4 separate regions of the Homo sapiens genome follow, and all the other regions are linked to region 3. The links are contacts of gene promoters, found by promoter capture Hi-C in blood cells and fetal thymus (Javierre and others, 2016). All regions are on one chromosome and are shown on one strand. Each heading gives the region's core, a stretch centred on a gene start or on the middle of the fragment in contact. The rest is flanking DNA. Distances are from core to core; before and after follow the strand shown.

Region 1 (3,200 bases), core at 581-3,080, 75 kb after region 3:
TATGTTAAGCACTCTTATAAATTTACAAGAAAATCAACATCCAATAGGAAAATAGTAAAAGGATACGAATAATTTTCGAAAAAAATCAAGTGCACCTAGACTTCACCACTATACAATTCATCCATGTACAACCAAAAATCGCTTGTACTCTTAAAGCTATCGCAATTAAAAAAAAAATTAAGAATAGGTGGCAGTTTAGATTTGGGCCATAGGCCTGTAGTTTGCCAAACACTTCTCTAAAGGGTTTCCTAGGGAATGTGGAGGTCAGCATGAACATGCCCAAGGACCATGGCAAGGCTGCCTGTAGGTGACATAACAGTATCCGTATGAGCCGTCTTCTATGATTCCAGGCACCCCTGTGCTTTCCCTGGTTTTCTTTTGCATTCCCCCAAAGTACCTAATAACTGAATTGTGTGTTTTCTCTTTCTTTCTCTCTCTCTCCACTGCCCCCACTAGGCATAGCAAGTATTTGCTATGTCAAGTAGTGGAAGCATCACCCTCCTTGGATATTCAGTCCTCTAAATGATCAGAACCCAGAGTTGTGAGAATTGTGATAAAAACGCTTGCTGCAACTGACTTATACAATAATACAATCATCAGGCCCCTGGAGCTGCTGGTCAGAAAACTCCAACATCTCTATGACCTTGCCTGCCTGCAGCAATTGCTAACTCAACAGGAAGTGTGCCTCACCTCTCTTTCACCATCAAATTTTATCTTAATTTGCATCCAGAATACCAGTTGCAAGAGAGACTAGTAAATGTGGAATTCAAATTCTATGGTACATAAAAGGCCACTCAAAGGAGGTTGAAATGGAACTTGAGTGCCATTTCATCATGGTCCTCATGAAGCCTGACCGAGTCCACCTGCCTCTAGAGGCTGGATGATGGCTCCGTTTGGCACTGAATCAGTTTTAGAGACATCTGCCTGCGCCTGAAACTGAGGAGTGTAGGAAGAAAGGTCTGCCTTGGTGAAGTGAGGACTATGATTTTGCCACATGGTCTTCATGACTACCATTCTATTCTGTGACAGTGGTCAACCAGGGTCCCTTACTGAGACTTTCAGTGAACAGTTTATTCCATGTGCCTACAGCTTATAATCTAATTAACATTTCATCTATGCATGCCAGGTACTATCAGAACTCTTCCCTTTAATACTAGCTGGATTTTTACTTCCTTCAGTTACATCTTGTACATCCCATAGTTCACTCAACTTGCTGAGAATCTGGGAGCAATTTTTTACAGCATTCAGGGTACTTTGTTGCAAGCAACACAGACCGATTTTGGCTAATATGAGCAGAACAGTAATTTACTAAACAAAAAAACCCAAAAAACTCCAGGCAACTCACAGAATCTGTGGCAAGTCAGGTTTGAAGGCTAAAAAGCCGGAAGCTATGCCCCAAATCAAACTGCAGAATTGATCTCCCGCAGGCACTGCTGTCTCTGCTGTAGGACAGAGAAACTGCATCTGCATGGCACACTCCTCCAATGCTGCTACCAGAAAGAAAGCTCCTGCAAACAGGATACAGCCACCTTCACAGGCACTGCCCCAGGGAAAGAGCCTGCATGATCTCCATTTCTTCACATTACCATTTTCTGATTAAGATTTGAAGGTGGGGCCGGGCGCGGTGGCTCACGCCTGTAATCCCAGCACTTTGGGAGGCCGAAGGCGGGCGGATCGCGAGGTCAGGTGATAGAGACCATCCCGGCTAACACGGTGAAACCTCGTCTCTACTAAAAATACAAAAAATTAGCCGGGCGTGGTGGCGGGCACCTTTAGTTTCAGCTACTCCGGAGGCTGAGGCAGGAGAATGGCGTGAATCCGGGTGGCGGAGCTTGCAGTGAGTCGAGATGGCGCCACTGCACTCCAGCCTGGGCGACAGAGCAAGACTCTGCCTCAACAACAACAACAACAACAACAACAACAACAACAACAACAACAAAGAGTTGAAGGTGGGGAGCTAAGGAGGAGTTAAGTATGTCTGATTGGCAGGACCTACGTCATATGCCAGGACCCTGGCTACCAAGAGTCTGGGAAAATTAATAGAAGATCTTCAACTTCTCTGATTGGAGACAGGCTCTATAACCCAAAATAGGAAGAGGTTCCTCTGCCAAGTAGCCATAAAGTGACAAATGTTCACTACATCCTTCATATATAGTCAGTTACAATTTCCTACTGACACTATCCCCTAAATCAGCAGTCCCCAACCTTTTTTGGCAGCAGGGACCGGTTTCGTGGAAGACAATTTTTCCACGTGCAAGGGTTTTGGGGGATGGTTTCAGGATAAAACTGTTCCGTGTCGAATCATCAGGAGTTACATTCTCATAAGGAGTGCGCAACCTAGATCCCTCGCATGCGCAGTTCCCAGTAGAGTTCACACTCCTATGAGAATCTAATGCTTCCGCTGCTCTGACAGGAGGCTGAGCTCAGGCAGTAATGCTTGCTCGCCCACCGCTCATCTCCTGCTGTGCGGGCCAGTTCCTAACAGGCCAGGGATCAGTACCGGTCTGTGGCCTGGGGATTAAAGAACACTGTCCTAAATCTCTTTTTTAAAACAGCTTTATTGAGTTATAATTCACATCCATACAATTTACCCATGTAAAGTGCACGATTCAATGGTATTTGATGTATTACATGTTATATTTTTTGGATCAGGAATACATATATAACAAAATTTGCCTGTTGACCATTTTTAAGAAAATAAATTTAATCATTTATACTTAAGATGTAAATATATTGTGGGATACATGTAGATAGTAAAATGGTCACTATAAAGAAGCAGATTAACATATTCGTCATCTCACACAGTTACACTTTTGTTAGTTTTTGTGGCAAGAATAGCTAAAGTCTACTCATTTAGCAGGAATCACAAATACAGTACAATTTTATTATCTGTAATCTTCACGTACATTTGATCTCTAGACTTGTTCATCCTACATGTCTGTTACTTTGTGTCCTCTGACCTACATCTCCCCATTTCCTTTCTACCTCCCTAGCCCCACCCCTGGTAAGCAGTGTCTTATTCCCTATCTCTGTATATATGACTCTTTAAAAAATTCCACATGTAAATGAGATCATGTATTTTTGTGTGTGTGTCTAGCTTATTTCACTTAGCACAAACTTCCAGGTTTCTGCATGTTGTGACAAATGGCAGGATCTCCTTTTTTAAAGGCAAAATAATATGTCTTTATCTATATGTATGT
Region 2 (3,159 bases), core at 328-2,827, 130 kb before region 3:
CTACTTGTTGTTTAGGACCATTTTGGAATTCCTCCTTTAAAACTAATTTCACAGATGACAACCCATTTTTTCACTCATTGAAGCATCACTATGGAGGGACCCTGTTTTGGTACATGGATACATCCATGAACAAAACAAAGCCCCTGGCCCCTGGCGTTCAACACTGTCATGGGAAGCCTCGCAATAAAGAAAGAAATACACACAGAGAGTAAGAAAGCGGGGGGAGATGGAGTGGGGATGGGCACAGTTAAGACAGGATGGCCAGGGAAGGGCTCTGAGCAGGTGACACTGGAGCTGAGGCAGGAGGTAGCAAGGATTCCCACACAGGTCTGGGGAATGCATCTCCAGGAGGAACACGAAGGGCACAGGTTTTGTGGGAATTGCAACTGATTCACTTGTGGAGCACAAGGAGGTCCAGTGTGGCTGAAGTGCACAGCAGGGGCAGATCCTGTGGGTCCCATGGGCCCAAAAGGACCTGGGGTTTACTCTGAGGGGGACAAGAAGCCACTGAACATCTGAGAGCATCTTCTGAGAAACAGTGGTATGGGACTGTCATTCTCTAATGAAGATTTGAGCTTGTCAACCTAAATAAAAAACAGGGAGAGGGCCTCTAAAAGGAATCTGGGAATAAAGCATTGCAACAGGAATGCGTATGCCATAAACAATGTGTATATTCAGGGAGATAAAGGAAGACAAAGGTTTTTAGAGGAAAAAATGAAGATTACGTAACTGTTTCAAAATAATTATCCTTGGCTACAAAGATCAATAACAAGTAACGCCAGCCTGAGGCTGGACAGGCAGTTGAACAGACATCCTTGCAGAAGTGTCTTCTGTATAAGGTTACAATGGCCTTCATGTAAGGTTGTGGTTTTTGCAGAGTGTTTTGTGATGGTTTTAGTTATCAGGCATACAAGCATAAGAACCCTCTTTTCATGGGCTTCTCAATTCTATTTGTCAGGGTTATTTTTAACACCAGTGATTCCATTTTGATTCCTCAGAGATTTGAGGGAGAATTATGGTCATGAACTAAGAAGACGGGGGTAGGCAGATGTTTGTACTATTTGTGGTGGAGCTCCAACAAGCTCAGAGAGAGACTTCTAAACAAGTTCCCCAAATGATTTGAATGTTGGCCATGTTTTGGCTGCTCAACATCCACTGCCCCCATTAAAATCCCGGTCTTGCTTTTGGAGACCCCTTTGGCCACCCCTCTCTCCACTGTATCAGCCTTGGACAGTAGAGGATCCCTGCAACTGAAGCCCAAGAGCCAGAGCTGCCTCCTCTGCCCTGACACAGCTGGACAGGCGTCTACATCAGGTCTGGCCTGCTGGATGCTGCTTCCAGGACTGACAGTCTGAATGGGCAACCTCATGGCATGGAGATTTGCCAAGCTCACAAAGAGCACAGGGCAGTGACGTGCAGACCTGCCATGGTATAGACTGTCTAGTTCTGGGGCTCCTGGGTTCCAGTTTGTGCTCTAAGCTTCAATCTCTATCCATCTATTGATTTCAGGAGACTTACAATAAATTTCCTTTTCATTTAGGGTAGCCAGAGTCAATTTCTATTGCTTACTCTCCAAAAAGACGAATCATACAATAATAGAGCTATTAGTTTTCTTTCTCTTTAAAAAAGTCAGATGAAACTGAATGGGAGTTTATCCGTTTTACTTTTTCCAAATAAAGCTTATTTAAGTTCAATAAATAATTTATTGATTAACCTAACAAGTGCCAGGCACTGTCCTAGGTGCTGAACCCACAGTGCTGAGTAAGATAGACCATTCCTTACCATTCTGCAGAAGGAGAGCAAAGACAAATGGCAAGAAGCAATGGGCCAGAGAGAAGAGACTGTGAGGAGTGTTACACAGAGAATTTCAGGCAGGGAAGAGAGTTCTGAGACAGCACACTAGATGACTAATTTAGATTGGGTGGTTGGAGAAGGCCTGCTTGATAAAGGTGAGGCCAATGTCTGAAATATAACCAGACATCCAAATGAAGATCAGGAAGAACACCCAGTGATGAGCTCAGCTGGTACAAAGATGTAAAGATGAGGCAGAGTATGGCCCATTGAAGGAGACCACTGTGGCTCATAGGAAAGGATGTGAGGAGGAGCAGGACAGGAGCTTGGGTAAGCGGAGTAGAAGTTTACATTTTACCCTAGGCAAAGTGACACAAAGGCACTGGAGGATTTTGAGCAGCAAGTGACATAATTTGATCTGCACTTTAAAAAGATCATTTGTAAGATTGGGGGAGAAGAGATGATAGGGGCAAAATCAGAACAGGGTGCCCAGTAGGCAGCTACTGCTGTCACCCAAGTACAACAGGATGGCAGCTTGGACCGAGACAGCGCAAGGTAGGGAGAGAGATGTGGAGGACTTGGAATAAGTGTTGTCTGAAATGCTAGTTAAATGGATGCTGGGAGAAAGGAAAATCAATCTAATGGCTAGATTTTTAGCCTGAGTGTGTGAGTGTCCGATATTATGAACACTGACAAGAATGGAGGAGGGGGAAGCTGTGCTCTGGCCAAGGTAAGTATAATGTATCTTTTACACATAAGAGTGGAGCAGTCATGTGTGAGACTGGACACAGAGAATAAGGTTTACCAATGATTAGTATCATACAGGTAGCATTCAAAACCAAGGTCCTGAATAAGATCACTTAGGGAGACTGTTTAGACAAATGTCAGCAAGACCTGGACAGGTGCTCACTGAGGCTGTTCAGCTGCTCAGGTGCAGCCAACCACATTTTATAAGTCACCTGTTCCTGTTCTACCACTATTCACCCTACCCTTCCTTCAATAAAGCTATGTCTGCAGGGGTCTTCTAGGAAAGATATTCTTCACTGAAATAAAGACATTCAGGAATACACAGGTCTTCTTCCAGGATGCTGTCACCTCTAAATGTGATACTTAGAGCTATGGCAGCCACCTTGTGACCATGATGGAAGGTGGCAAGGGCAAAGTCTCCAAACTGAAGATGGCACAGCAGAAAGACAGCACTAGGCTGCTGACCTTATCAATCCTGAAGACGCCTTACTCTGTGACTGCTTGTGATGCTACAGAGTATTTTCTTATTGTTTAAGCCAGCTGAAATAGGGTTTCCTGTAATTTGTACCAAGAACATCAGGAAGTACAGATGGATGGAGGAAAGAGATTTGAACATGCATT
Region 3 (2,868 bases), core at 309-2,808:
GCCACACTTGCCTTATGTTACGTCCCAAATACACCACACATGTTCACATCTCCATGCCTTTGACCATGTTCTTGTCTCTGTCTGGAATAATAAGTAAGGAATAAAGTCATTCATCACACTCCTGAAGCACTGCTACGTGCTAGTGGCAATTTACATTAACAATCTCATCTCATCTTCATAACAAACCTATAAAGTTGGTATTGTTTTTCCTGTTTTACACGTGAGATAAGTCTGCCCAAGAACCCTCACAAATGGCAAAATCCACTGCCTATTAAAGAATGCCTTGGAACCCCTTTCAAATGGCGAAACCCTGCAGGTATTACAGCCCTTTCCTCTTACCATGCCTTGAAAGTTCACACAGCCTACTAATAACCAGGATCTGCTTCACTACACTAAAACCAATCACGACTTACACGCTTTTCACTTCTGCTTAACAGATTATAGGTGCTCAACAAATGCATGTCAAAATTAAAACACTGGTCCTCTGGCTTAACCCGGAGGTTAAGGGTGGAAACTGCTATTCCACCCTTCACGACCCTTTTAGCTTTTCCCTGCACTGCCAGTGAAAGGAACTGAGCTGTAACAGTATTCCCTAGGATTGTCAGCCTCCTTCAAAGCCTTCAAAGCTCTGTATTGTATTGCTAATGATGTCTCCTCCCGTAGAAGGTAGCTCAAGGGCAAGATCCATACCATCCACATTCTTATCGCCAGAGCTGAGGAAAATAAAAAGTGCTCAAAATTGTTTAAATGAAGTGGAACAGTCCCTCAAGACTAACTTTCTAAGAGAAAATGAACAAGAGGAAAAATTGTTCCAGCTGAGCAGCTTCAAATTTAAGATTCTCCGTAATAATAAAAGGCAGTTTCACCGCAGCTTTTACAACTCCACCACTAATAGCTGAGTTTACAGAAAGCCATTACACAGCAACAATAAAGCCTGGTAGCAAGGATTAAATCCCCAGGGTATATATTGACCTTGGCTTGTCTGGAGCGGAGGGCGTAAGCTGCACTTCTGTTTGCCGCGCTGAATGCGGTCACTTTACAGGTAAGCTGCTCGGGGGTACACGTTTAGGTTATTAAAAGCAAGAAATAGGTGCACAAGGAAGCGGCCACGCTGGGTGAGTAGGGAGGTGAGAAAGGGGAGGGACCCAGGTTCGGTGCGCCTGCCTGACCTCGACCCCGCGTCCTGCCGGCGGACGCTGCACCTTATGCCCGTCCTGAGAGCGAGCGGCCGCCCGCTGCCCCGCGCCTGCCCAGCGTTCGCACCTCACCTCGGTTCTCCTCCTCCAGGTGCCGCACCCGCAGCTCGTCCTCCGTCTTCATCTCAGAGCTGTAGCCCCTTTTCGGGGCGGGACCCCCGGCCGCAGGTACCCAGCCCTGGGCCCAGATCGCCGGGCCCGCTCGCCGGCCTGCCAACGAGCCGGGCAGCCTCAACCCCGGGCAGAGCCACGCACTGCAAGCGGCCACCAGGCGGGCGCCGCCAGCATGCAGGGATCCCAAGGCCCCAGGTGCCGCCGCCACCGCGGCCGCCATGTTGTCTGTTTACGGCGTGGACCTGCGACGGCCGCTCCGCCCCCGCCCGGCGCCGACCTGCCGCGCGCACGCGCACGGCGTCCGGACCCGCCGCCTCGCTCCGGCTTGGCCCCGCCCTCCGGAGCCGTGTTCCCGCCCCTCACTGCCCCGCCGAAGCCCGGTGACCCGAGGCCTTGCCCCATTCTCCAAGCGAGATTGGATGGTTTGTCCAATACAAAAGGAAAGAAAGTAGTTTTCCAAGGTTATGGAATAATTCAGGGAAGACTTTTCTATAAGAACCACCCGGAGGGAATTATCTCCCCGTACTCCCTGGACCATGCCCTGCGGTCCTGTGTTAAGTAAGCTGCAAAAGTGAACAAAAAAGTTTTGTCTCCTCAAGTTGGCTGAAAGTGTGGCAGCCCATCGTTGGTCACTGCCTTACTTATGGATCTCAGGTTGTTGGTTTAGCGTCCCTGATAAGCATAAATGATGTTTACTACGTGGCGTTCAGGAAAAGGATGAGAACAGCAAACAGGCAAAGGAGTTCTTTCTCCAGCCCACCCACTCGTACCGATGTCCCATGGCCCTTCCTGGACGGAAAGAGTCTTACAGGGGTTCAAACAAGCCATACGCTGAGATGGGATTTAGAGTATGTAGCTCTTCCAGAAACTCGGGATATCAATTTAGTGTGTAGGTACTCATCAAAGCACGTTGCAGTATAATTAATGCTACCTAGCTTTTATCAGATCTCTAATGGGAAAGCTTGCATTTAAGAATACTGGGCAGGGGGCGGTGGCTCACGCCTGTAATCCAAGCACTTTGGGAGGCCGAGGCAGGTGGATCACCTGAGGTCAGGAGTTTGAGACCAGCCGGGCCAACGTGGTGAAACCCTGTCTCTACTAAAAATACAAAATTAGCCAGGTGTGGCGGCACACGCCTGTAATCCCAGCTACTCGGGAGGCTGAGACAGGAGAATTGCTTGAACCCGGGAGGCGGAGGTTGCCCTGAGCTGAGACTGCACCATTGCACTCCAGTCCAGGCAACAAGAGTGAAACTCTGTCTCAAAAAAAAAAAAAAAAAAAAAAAAGAATACTGTTTGAAAAGTGTGCTGCTATGAGCATACGTCTAGTGCCACAGAAATTTCTTGTATTTTTTAGTCCTAAGCAAAACATCCTTCATTATGTCCTCAACTTTTATCCAATGTAGAAACAAAAAGTAGACTGAATTCCATTACTGCATCTGCTGTAAAATGATGTTGAAGGCACTTTTATTTTTATTTTTATTTTTTATTTTTTGACAGGTTCTGGCTCTGTCGGCCAGGCTGGAGTGCAGTGGTGTGATCGCCTCTCGCTGCAACCT
Region 4 (2,837 bases), core at 57-2,556, 110 kb before region 3:
AACTGTAAGATGCTGGATTAGCTCTGAGGGCAGGTAACAGAAGACTAAATTAAAAGTGTGATAGTAGAAACAAAAACGAATTCTAAACATAAGAGATGGGTAATCTAAAATAGCAAGCTGTCCATATCTCTTCAGTTAATAAAACATGTCAAGAACTGCCTATATTGGCAACCATTCGTATGACATCAATGCAACAATATGTTTACACTGAACATCATTTTCCTAATATCACAGCACATCTCTTAACTAACAAAAATCCTAAATGGCAGAATGGGACAATCAATATATCCTTAATTACCTATGTGACCTTGGAAAAGGTTCTAAGACTCAGTTTCCATATTTTTGATATGGGAGTAACCTACCTTTTAGACTTGACATAAAACTAAGAGACAATGGAATAATTCCTACCCCAGGACCTGGTATACAGCATAAACTCAAAGGAAAACTGAATCTGGAATTTATAGCCTGGAATTGAAAACATTTCAAACTGTCATACCAAAGTTGGAATAAAGTGTAAGGTTAGATTTATAAAAGGGTTTATATATTTAAAAAGTTCTCATCTCGGCCAGAGGTTTGGAATTGTAGACTTCTAATAATCTTATAAAGTCACTAAACACTAGTATGTATATATTAGTATCAGAGCAAACTAGTTAAATGTTGGCATGATATTAACCCTCAGATGAGTAAATATAGTCACAGTTAAACCCAGCATAAGAAAAGAAGTTTCATGTTCAAAAACTCTAAGAGCGATCATCCATACACTGACTGTATCTTTTGTTAAGATTTTTAAAAATTGTAATGCTTTCATGTTATATCGTCCCGAAGGAGTGGTTTCTGTTACAGTATCATGAAATATAGTGACATCAAGTATTTCATCTAGTTCTACTGTTTACGTGCTTTTGCTGTCCAAGTGTGTAATGTGAGTGATGGCAGCACTACAAAAGAATGTAGTTTTTAAAAGAAAAAGCTTTGCCCAGCTGCTTGTAATAAAATAACCAAACCTCACAGCAAGGGCTGATTAAGATAAAGATAAATATAGTAACAGATGCATAAGTCTGAAATAGATCTGAGAGAAACTGTTACAGAAGGATATTTCCATGACTGTCCTGATAAGCAATTTTTAGTGATTAAATATGCCTGGGCATATATATCTATTTTTTCATATAAAAGCTATTTATACTGCCTCCTTACAAGTTAGTAGTCATAAAATAATTTTTATTTTCAACTATCAAGTGCTAACTTGGTACACAGCAAAGTGATCATTTAGAAATGACATTTATTATTTATAATCAAAAGTATAATGTGAATTAACTTGGAAACTGTCATCTTTTTTCTCTTTTTCATTTTCAAAAAGCAAGCTAGTTGCTCATGAATTGAGGCTCTATAAGTTACGCAGCTCTATTTTAAAAATACATAAGCTCTAAGTTCTGGCATTTTATCTTCCATTTTATAGGAATTAAATATAATTAAATTTAAATAATGTCATGTAAACATTTTATTTCAGTTATATCTTATCTTAGAAACAACAAAGATTGATCATTTGTAATATATGGAAGTACTTGAAATTGCTTTTGGCTACTCCATTAAATCAGTTAGTGAGGCTTATACTGTAAAACAAATATGCTTCTACCCAGACTGTAGCAATTAAGCTTATGATTTATTTAGTGGCATAAAATAACACTTCATGAAATCTGTCCTAAAATAACATTTGTTAATAAAACCATTAACAAGATTATTCTGAAATATGACATCTTGTAATGAGACAGGAAGTGGGACTGACCTGCTACCCACAATCTGGAGACTGAGATCCAACCTGAGGGCAAAGACTATCGAGAACCCCAGATTCTAAAGACAGCAACAAACCTGAGCCTGCCCTCCTTTGGTGCTCATGAAGAGCACCTGGCATGGCACCAGCACAGCTACTGGCATCACCACCCAGACACTTCCTTCCAGCTATGCATTACGGACACGGAGAAGGGAGAGGAGGAAAGTCACTGTAGTCTTAACAAGGAGGGCTGGGATTTTGCCTCTGCTTGCTCCTTCCCCACCTTGGGGGTAGGAGGGTGTCTAAGAGGTCAAGGAGACTGAGGTGCCTCCAAGAACAGGAGACCAGCACTGCAGTGACAGCTGTCCCTGTGCTCAAGCGGCAGACTTACTGCACAGCCCCTCCTTCTACTGAACCAATGAAAAGAAAAGTGAGGGAGTGGGTAGGGAGGAGAACACTGGTGGCAACCTGCATACCTACTCTCTGGTGTGGTGAGGATAGGAGAGTCTCTCCTCAACATCATGGAAGGTACCTGGGCTGCAGCTACCTTGCCAGACCCTTACACAGAGAGACAGCCTATGAGGCAAAGACATGAGTTACGATTATTCAGCGGACAAAAATAACATAGGCTTAAAAAACATCAAAGCTTCTCTCTCCTTTTAAAATATCCCAAACTTGTAGGTATTCTTGGGTTATCTCTCGTGTTGTTCTGCCACCCGCTGGGTGTTGCTCTTGTCTCTGAGGTTGATGAGAATGTTCTCCAGTTCACATTGCAGCCATCTATGTGGGCAGAAACTTTGCCATAAGGCCATCTCCAAGCTATATGGGAGGCTAAAATGGTTATGTAGAGCTAAAATGGTTACGTTGATCTAGCTGGATCTGAACCAGGGTAGCAGTATTATTACTAAAAGGAAGAAAGATCCAGCCATTATTTGGAAACAGCTAGTAGTCTCTGCCACAGAGACTACTAGAGACTCTGCCACAGAGACTACTGGGCACTGCCAGAGACGAGTGGCAGTGCAAGATGGGGATCTGTAGTCAGACCTCCTACCTCAGGGAGCGGTGGCACCAA

What was found. Contacts are between HindIII fragments. The CHiCAGO score rates a contact against its expected background, and 5 or more counts as called.
Region 1: a fragment that was not itself captured here is called in contact with the fragment with the promoter of AUH in region 3 in 1 of 17 cell types (neutrophils); the score reaches 6.2 in neutrophils.
Region 2: a contact is called between a fragment that was not itself captured here and the fragment with the promoter of AUH in region 3, in 1 of 17 cell types (activated CD4 T cells). The highest score is 6.2, in activated CD4 T cells.
Region 4: a fragment that was not itself captured here is called in contact with the fragment with the promoter of AUH in region 3 in 2 of 17 cell types (activated CD4 T cells and megakaryocytes); the score reaches 5.3 in activated CD4 T cells.

The regions. Positions count from the first base shown.
Region 1 is chr9:91,434,683-91,437,882 of GRCh38, forward strand. It overlaps a transcript of NFIL3 not described here. Among named protein-coding and RNA genes, the nearest start is that of NFIL3, 12 kb to the left of the region's middle. The HindIII fragment of the contact is 6,179 bases long and covers 1-3,200 here.
Region 2 is chr9:91,232,951-91,236,109 of GRCh38, forward strand. All of the region lies in intron 6 of AUH (AU RNA binding methylglutaconyl-CoA hydratase), which reads right to left. Among named protein-coding and RNA genes, the nearest start is that of LINC02937, 71 kb to the left of the region's middle. RefSeq lists a silencer at 3,037-3,159. The HindIII fragment of the contact is 200 bases long and covers 1,478-1,677 here.
Region 3 is chr9:91,360,360-91,363,227 of GRCh38, forward strand. It overlaps AUH (AU RNA binding methylglutaconyl-CoA hydratase), which reads right to left and starts at 1,559. Exons shown (of 10, transcript NM_001698.3): 1 at 1,269-1,559. The coding sequence starts at 1,530. RefSeq lists a silencer at 1,290-1,729. The HindIII fragment of the contact is 2,357 bases long and covers 1-2,269 here.
Region 4 is chr9:91,254,537-91,257,373 of GRCh38, forward strand. All of the region lies in intron 6 of AUH (AU RNA binding methylglutaconyl-CoA hydratase), which reads right to left. Among named protein-coding and RNA genes, the nearest start is that of LINC02937, 93 kb to the left of the region's middle. The HindIII fragment of the contact is 682 bases long and covers 966-1,647 here.